Linked DNA regions of Homo sapiens: region 1 is linked to region 2. Evidence: promoter capture Hi-C in human tissues and cell types (Jung and others, 2019). All regions are on one chromosome and are shown on one strand. Each heading gives the region's core, a stretch centred on a gene start or on the middle of the fragment in contact. The rest is flanking DNA. Distances are from core to core; before and after follow the strand shown. Region 1 holds the start of LINC01649 (long intergenic non-protein coding RNA 1649). Region 2 holds the start of NHLH2 (nescient helix-loop-helix 2).

Region 1 (4,022 bases), core at 731-3,230, 77 kb before region 2:
GGTGGGACTGGGATTTAAACCCAAGACACCTCAAGTCAAAAGTAAATTATTTTTCTCTTTTCTGTAGATGCCATTGCCTAGGTCAGTGCTCTGGCCTATCATCTGAATGTTTGTATCCTCCTAAAATGTATATGTTGAAATCCTCACCGCCATAGGTGATGCTGTTAGGAACTGGGGGCCCTTGGGAGGTGACTGAGTCTCGTGAAGGCAGGCCATCATGAATGATCAGTGTCCTTATGAGAGCTGCCCCCCAAATTTCCCTCACCTCTTCCACTATGTGAGGACACAGCAAGAAGGCACCATTTTTGAACAAGGAAGTTAGCCCTTACCAGACACCAAATCTGCTAGCACCTTGATCTTGGGCTTCCCAGACTCCAGAAATGTGAGAAATAACATTTCTATTACTTGTAAGTCACTCAGGTATGGTATTTTGTTACAGCTACCCGAACAGACTAAGATAAGCAGTGATTCTCTTTTTTTTTCCCCCACATTTCAAACCCTAAGAGGGCATCTGAATTCTAGAACCCCATCCTTAACTCCCTTCCATTCTCAACACACATCTACCATTCCACTACCAAAGTCCAAAGAGTATCAGGATCTCTGGGCTATCAAGAAGATGGAGAATATGAAAAAAATCCATGTTAGCTCATTTATTTTAGAAACTTTTCTTTGTGTGTGGTGTGTTTTAAAATCTGAGTAATGGTTTAATAAATCCAGAAGTAGAATAAGTAGAAGCAGAAGTGAATCTAGGATCTTTTCCTCTTGATAAGTTACTCCTTTTGGGGTCTGAAGCTTACATAATTTTAGAGGCTTTTTAAAAGAAAAAGATGACAAGAATATTTATACAAAATTAGGTTTGAGTGTTGATTTAAAGTGAGAAAAGAAATTGCTATCAATTACACATTTTAAAAATATTTAACTGCCACAAGAATCACAAAATTAAAAATATATATATATACATGGTACTTAATTGCCCTGACACCCCTATATAATTATGCCTTCATTTTTTGGCTCTATATATTCTTGGGTCACGACTTCATATAACAAAGATTTTTGTAGTATTTTCTATCAAGAGGGTACATATAAAGATAGATTAGTCTTTCCAGTAGCATGGTTGATCAAATTTGTTTTTCATTAAGAATTTGGAAAAGTTTCTGTGAGCTTCATAACTCATTATTTGTACTATCACATAAATGCTTGGGATCACAGTTTTAGGAAATTTCCATCAAATTTTTGTCATATGTGAACTCTAAGATTTCAGAGTATCTCTAATTTGTTTTCGTTGTTGTTACTGTTCAATGACTAATCTTTTTTTCTCTTTGAATTTAATGAATTTACATAAAAAAATTAGGTAGTCATTTTGCATTTAAGGAATAAAAATCTTTAAAAAAATACAAAGAATGGAAGGATTTTAGCCAAGTTTACACTTCTTTTTGCTATAATTTGTAACAATTCAGCTCATCATAACTTAATGCAATGTGCAAATGCAGCACGTATTACGATCACTTAACTAAATTTAAGGAAGTACATTGTTAATAGTGGCCCTCAGAGGAAATAGATTTATCTTCTTGTAAAAACTCCATGGTATATAAACATTACATAATAATGCTACTTAACCACCTCTTGTCTCAAGAATCATTACCCGGCGAGGTGCGGTGGCTCATGCCTGTAATCCCAGCACTTTGGGAGGCTGAGGCGGGCAGATCACGAGGTCAGGAGTTCGAGACCAGCCTGACCAACATGGTGAAACCCCGTCTCTACTAAAAATACAAAAATTAGCCAAGTGTGGTTGCGGGTGCCTGTAATCCCAGCTACTTGGGAGGTTGAGGCAGGAGAATCACTTGAACCCGGGAGGTGGAGGTTGCAGCCGAGATCCAGCCTGGGCAACAGAGCAAGACTCTGGTCTCAAAAAAGAAAAAAACAAAAACAAAACAAAAAAACCACAAATGCTTTAATAGTTTTAAAGCAAAAGCTGTTAGAGTCTAGATAGCTAAAACTATACTTGTGAGTTCAAGCTTACAGATAAGTAGCTCTTAATAAAATATATTTTGATATATGTAGTTCTTTTTTTTTTTTTTTTTTTTTTTTTGAGACAGTCTCGCCCTGTCACCCAGGCTGGAGTGCAGTGACATGATCTCGGCTCACTGCAAGCTCCGCCTCCTGGGTTCACACCCATTCTCCCGCCTCAGCCTCCCAAGTAGCTGGGACTACGGGCGCCCGCCACCACACCCAGTTAATTTTTTTGTATTTTTAGGAGAGACAGGGTTTCACTGTGTTAGCCAGGATGGCCTCGATCTCCTAACCTTGTGATCCGCCTGCCTCAGCCTTCCAAAGTGCTGGGATTACAGGTGTGAGCCACCGTGCCCAGCAAGTAGTTCTTTTAAGTAGTTCTTAATAAAATATCCTTCCTCCCCATGCCCCTACCCTAAATCTTATATTGTTCTTATAAAACTTTGGTCAAGAGTAAAAATATATCCAGGCAGATGTATATGTCATACAATAGCAAGAACAGTAAAGCCCAACTAATGACTTTAAAATATAAGACAATTATAATGTACTCAAAGGTACATAAAAAAAAGCTTTCATGGGGGTAATATTGAAACAGTCACAAAGGTTAAGAAAATAGTGATGTCACCTGGGCACCGTGGCTCACGCCTGTAATCCCAGCACTTCGGGAGGCTGAGGCCGGCAGATCACCTGAGTTCGGGAGTTTGATACCAGCCTGACCAACATGGAGAAACCCCATCTTTACTAAAAATACAAAATTAGTTGGGCGTGGTGGCACATGCCTGTAATCCCAGCTACTAGGGAGGCTGAGGCAGGAGAATTGCTTGAACCTGGGAGGCAGAGGTTGCAGTGAGCCGAGATTGCACCATTGCACTCCAGCCTGCGTAACAAGAGTGAAACTCCATCTCAAAAAAAAAAAAAAAAAAAAAAAAAAAAAAAAGAAAAGAAAATAGTGATATCAAAGTACAAATGGCTGCAATGTTAAAATAGACAAAAGCTACTATGCAAGAGCTTCTTTTAAAATGAAAAATATAGAACACAACACATGAGTCGGTGATTTTCCTGTTCTACTCATGAATTTTAGGTTGGTTAGGTTGACATTTAGAAGAGTTTCTTATCACATCTGATGGTGTCATTCCAACTTCGTAGGGTGGGTCTTCCCCAAGGAACCTCTAATCTTGGTTATTGTACAATTTCAAAGTAGTGCAATATCGCCATGATGTGCTGGGTCATGAAGATGTATCCTGCGTATCAATGGAAACCAGCGTGGAATTGAGCACCTTCCGCTCCTCGGGCTCCAGCATGTAGAGCATTGTGACCAGCAGGTGTTGGTAGTAGAACCAGGACATCTACTTCCAGGCCCGCACCAGCTCCATCCCTGCCAGGCGCCTCCTGCGATGAGGTGGCATTTCAGTCTCTCAATGACTAATCTTAAATATGCTATGAATTGATGGCATTCACTATTAACTAATTTGTGATCTATGTCCTCCTTCTAATGGTGTATTATGGTTTATATTATCTTTGTCAATATAAACATTCCTGTCTAATTATAAATTTAAATATTTTACAAATATATTCGTATAACTCATTCTTTTTTATTGATTAGATCATTAAATAATATAAAAGCCTATTTATTATTTCTATTGGCAATTTATCTCTTCCTCTTAATGATTTACTAATTTTGAATTTTTTTTTTTGAGACGGAGTCTCACTCTGTCGCCCAGGCTGGAGTGCAATGGCGCAATCTCGGCTCACTGCAACCTCTGCCTCCCAAGTTCAAGCGATCCTCCTGAGTAGCTGGAATTACAGGCACGGCACCACGCTCAGCTAACTTTTGTATTTTTAGTAGAGATGAGGTTTCACCATGTTGGTCAGGCTGGTCTCAAACTCCTGGCCTCGTGATCCATCCCCCTCAGCCTCCCAAAGTGCTGGGATTAGAGGCGTGAACCACTGTGCCCGGCTGGAAATGATACTTTTTTAAAAAAATATTTTTTAGAGACAGGGTCTCATTCTGT
Region 2 (3,519 bases), core at 662-3,161:
GACAGTGTGGCTAGGCATCACTAAGTATGGATCTGAGTGTGTACCTGTTTATACAGGCTTACTTCTGTAAGCATTAATTTTTGTGTATGCTGGCTGCTGGTATAGAATGAGTAAGCCTGAACATAAAAGGGAATTTGTCTGGTATCACACACACCATAGCAGAATTGGACCTGCCCTGATAGGCACACCCTGTCATGACTCCCCAACACCAGGGGAACCAGAGATGCTGGTCCTTTCCCACTGTAGCAGCTGCCCACTCTAGAGCTATGGTGATTAGACCCACCAGTTTTTTTCAATCCATCAGTATGGATGTGTGGTGGTCTAATAGAGCCAGCCAGCTTGTATGATGAAGGGGGAGGAGGTACAGGTGTCTGTGGGTGTGCATCTGTGTGCACACTTCTGGTTGTGTGTGAATGCTTAGCATTGGCTGTTCCTAACTAGAGTGAGAAAACCTCCCTTCTCCCTTCATTGTCACCACCTTGGGGTGTTTATCCACTCACCCATTTCCATTGCCACCTGTATGGGACCGGCTTCCATCTTCACTTTAACGTTCTGGGGATATCTAAAATATACCTCTGTGCTGGGGTTAGGCAGAAGCAAGGCTGGGGAGTGTTGGTGCCCTTATTTGTTGGAGGCACTCCCTCCTTTCCCCGACCCCTGCCCCATTGTGGTCCAGGAATCTCTCAAAGGAGCAAAAATGTGGGCAAAGGCAAATAGTACTTGTGGAAGCCATGAAAAACCCGGAGGGTCACTCCCAGGGGTGGGCTGCTCAATGTGCCTCCCCTGGTGATAAAATCTGCTTTTAGGGCAAAATTAAGGAAGACAAGTGAGGACTCCTCTCTCCACAAATGTTCCCCTAGGAACTGGCGGGGTGGGAGTAAGGCTGTAATGCTCTTTTATTTCTTTAAGCTTGTATGATCAAAACAAGCTAAAATAATCACAAATAATATGTTATTGATATTAACTATGAGTATCTTCATAAAGTGGCAAAATAATTGAACTAGATTTTATTTTTTATTATAAGGTATACAAATTCAGGGCCATGGGATCATGTAAGGCAAAGGCATTATGTACTGGGACACACTGGTAATTTGTGTTTACATCTTGGCACAAGCACTGCCACGCAGTACAATATATTAGCATGTTAAGATGGGCAAGAATGAAGTGCAATAATCAACACATGTAGCATGTCATATTTCAGCTTGAATGAATGAGTGGGTGGAGAGAAAAACAAACATACAGAAAAGTAGAATTATCTCATGTCGTGGTCCGTGAATATGTGGATTCTCTTTCTAGTTCCACCAATGGCTTAATCTATTGAAAGGTTCTTACCATCTATTGATAAGTTAGTCTCATAGCAGATCATTTCTCAAAAATGTTAATATGCTTAATCAAACCTTACTGAAGTATCTTTTAAAATGTAAATGATCTCTAATAAATGTTGGCTGTTGCATGTCTAAATACTTTATTGCAGCATCTTATATAGTATATATTTCCATGTTCTGGACACAAATATTTTTCTAAATATTAAGGGAAAGTGGTGGCTTTGTAATATGCCAGGGGAATTCTTTGATAGTCAATATATTGTTTATTTGTACTTAAATATTTCATCAATAATCTGGAAAAGAGAAATAGCCTGACTACGGCTAGATACTGTTTAGAGGCTAAGATTTCTATCATGAACTGCTTTTCAATTGTTATATTTTATGGCACAGATTCAGTGGGAATCTGATCTGCTAAAATATTTGGGCTGTGAAAACTCCCACACTGTGACAGATGTCAAGTCCAATTAAGTGACTCATGTCCAGGTTTCTGTCCAATAGGATTTCCCATTAAATATCAATTTAGGGGAAAAAAATTCCATCCCCCTTCCTAAGCCTTTATCTCTTCCACCATCTCCAGGCTGAATCAATTGGTACCAGGAGAGCCCAGAAGCCACACACGCATCTCTGCCTCTTTGCTCTGGCTCTCCCACCCTCTTCCCGTCTTTCTCTGCTTCCTTGTCACTGTTACTCCAGGAGACGTTCACTTTTCACCAACCTTTCTCCAAGCATCTCCAAGCCACTGACTATATATATTTTGCTACAAGGTAAAGAGAAGAGGGGCTGGGGACGGGGGATATAGCCAAACCTTGAAAGACTTTGAAACTGGAAAATAGGTGTCTATTTATACAACATACAAGTAAGTGAGGGAAGAGGAAGAGGCAACCTTAGCTCCTAGTTACAGTATTGTGTTCCTGGGAACTGGGGAGATATCAGCTGAACAAAGCCTTATCTCAAAAAAAAAAAAAAAATCACTTCTGAGCAAGATCACATCTCTGTCCTGCACTTCCCAGTTTCTGCTCAGCCGTATTAAGGAAAAGAAAGGCATACGATAGGAGCGGAATCTTATCTTAACCATCTTTCTTATTGATTATTCCGCTATTAGAAAGTGGAGGAATCAGCCCTTTGATGTGATTGTGTTTATCTCTGCATCTCTTTTGTTATTTTTAGAGACCTAGAAGAGGAAAAAAGGCACGAGACTTTTCAACACATCGTTTAAAAAAATCATCAACGAATTTCTTGCAATGTTTGAGAACAATTAAAAGGAAAAAGCGTTTTTTAAAAAATCTATCAACTAAGTGAACAATCATTCATATCGTCTACATCCTGAGATATTATTGTCCCTCGCTGCGGACACCAGCGAGATGACAGCTGCTTTTTCATTTTTGAATGTAATAAATATTTGCTGCTTTTAATATTTTCCGGAATCTCCCCTCGCTATTCCTTGGAATTTTAACTCTAAAGATTGGAGAACAGATTATCAAAAAGGCTTTTGCAAGGTAAGACTCCTTTAAATAATTTTTTTCAGCTTGAAATAAGTTAGATTATTCATACTGTATCTATAGATGCAGTTCATTCCATAAAGAGATAAAACGCATACACGGCATACTATTTATGAATATTTTTAAAGATCTAGAGGAGAATTTAATGTGCTTTGAGGGCAACCCAGGAACTTTTTACCAGAACTACAACTATTTAGTGGCTTATTGTGATTTTCCATTACTCGTCTATTTATTTCTGCCCTTTCAAGCTGACTGTGTAGGTGCAAGTTGTTCTACTCATAAACGTACCCGAGAAAAGCCCGTAGGGAGTCACATGCAGCTCTCTGGGAGCATTTGTTTTTATTTTGCCGTAGAGGACCTGATTTCCTCGCAGGGAAATTAAAGCTGTTTTGGCCCAATTCGCTCCTCTGCAAGTGCGGTGCTGGGAACCGATCACCCATCCCCTTGCTTTTGTTTCTCTAGAAGCAAACGCTCCTATACGTCGCCGACGCGGATTTCTCCCGTGCCGAGCGTCGTGGAGGCTGCCCACGCCGGGGCCCCGAGTTCTCAGCCTGGTCCTCACTCCCGACGCCCAGGGGCGGTGCGTGCAGCCCCTGCAGGGGCCTTTCTCCTCCTGCCGGGCCCTTTCTCGAAGCCCGAATTACCCGGAAGCCCAGCGGTTCTGAGCGGCCCCCTCCCAGAAGGCGCACAGTCCG

What was found. Contacts are between HindIII fragments. The study calls those that stand out against the background at their distance.
Region 1: a contact is called between a fragment that was not itself captured here and the fragment with the promoter of NHLH2 in region 2, in 2 of the 25 tissues and cell types used here (hippocampus and mesendoderm cells).

Annotation. Positions count from the first base shown.
Region 1 is chr1:115,915,867-115,919,888 of GRCh38, reverse strand. LINC01649 (long intergenic non-protein coding RNA 1649) reads right to left here and starts at 513. Exons shown (of 3, transcript NR_125969.1): 1 at 330-513. It also overlaps the pseudogene LOC101928952. The HindIII fragment of the contact is 3,496 bases long and covers 233-3,728 here.
Region 2 is chr1:115,839,518-115,843,036 of GRCh38, reverse strand. It overlaps NHLH2 (nescient helix-loop-helix 2), which reads left to right and starts at 1,911. Exons shown (of 3, transcript NM_005599.3): 1 at 1,911-2,089; 2 at 2,493-2,821. The HindIII fragment of the contact is 10,676 bases long and covers 1-3,519 here.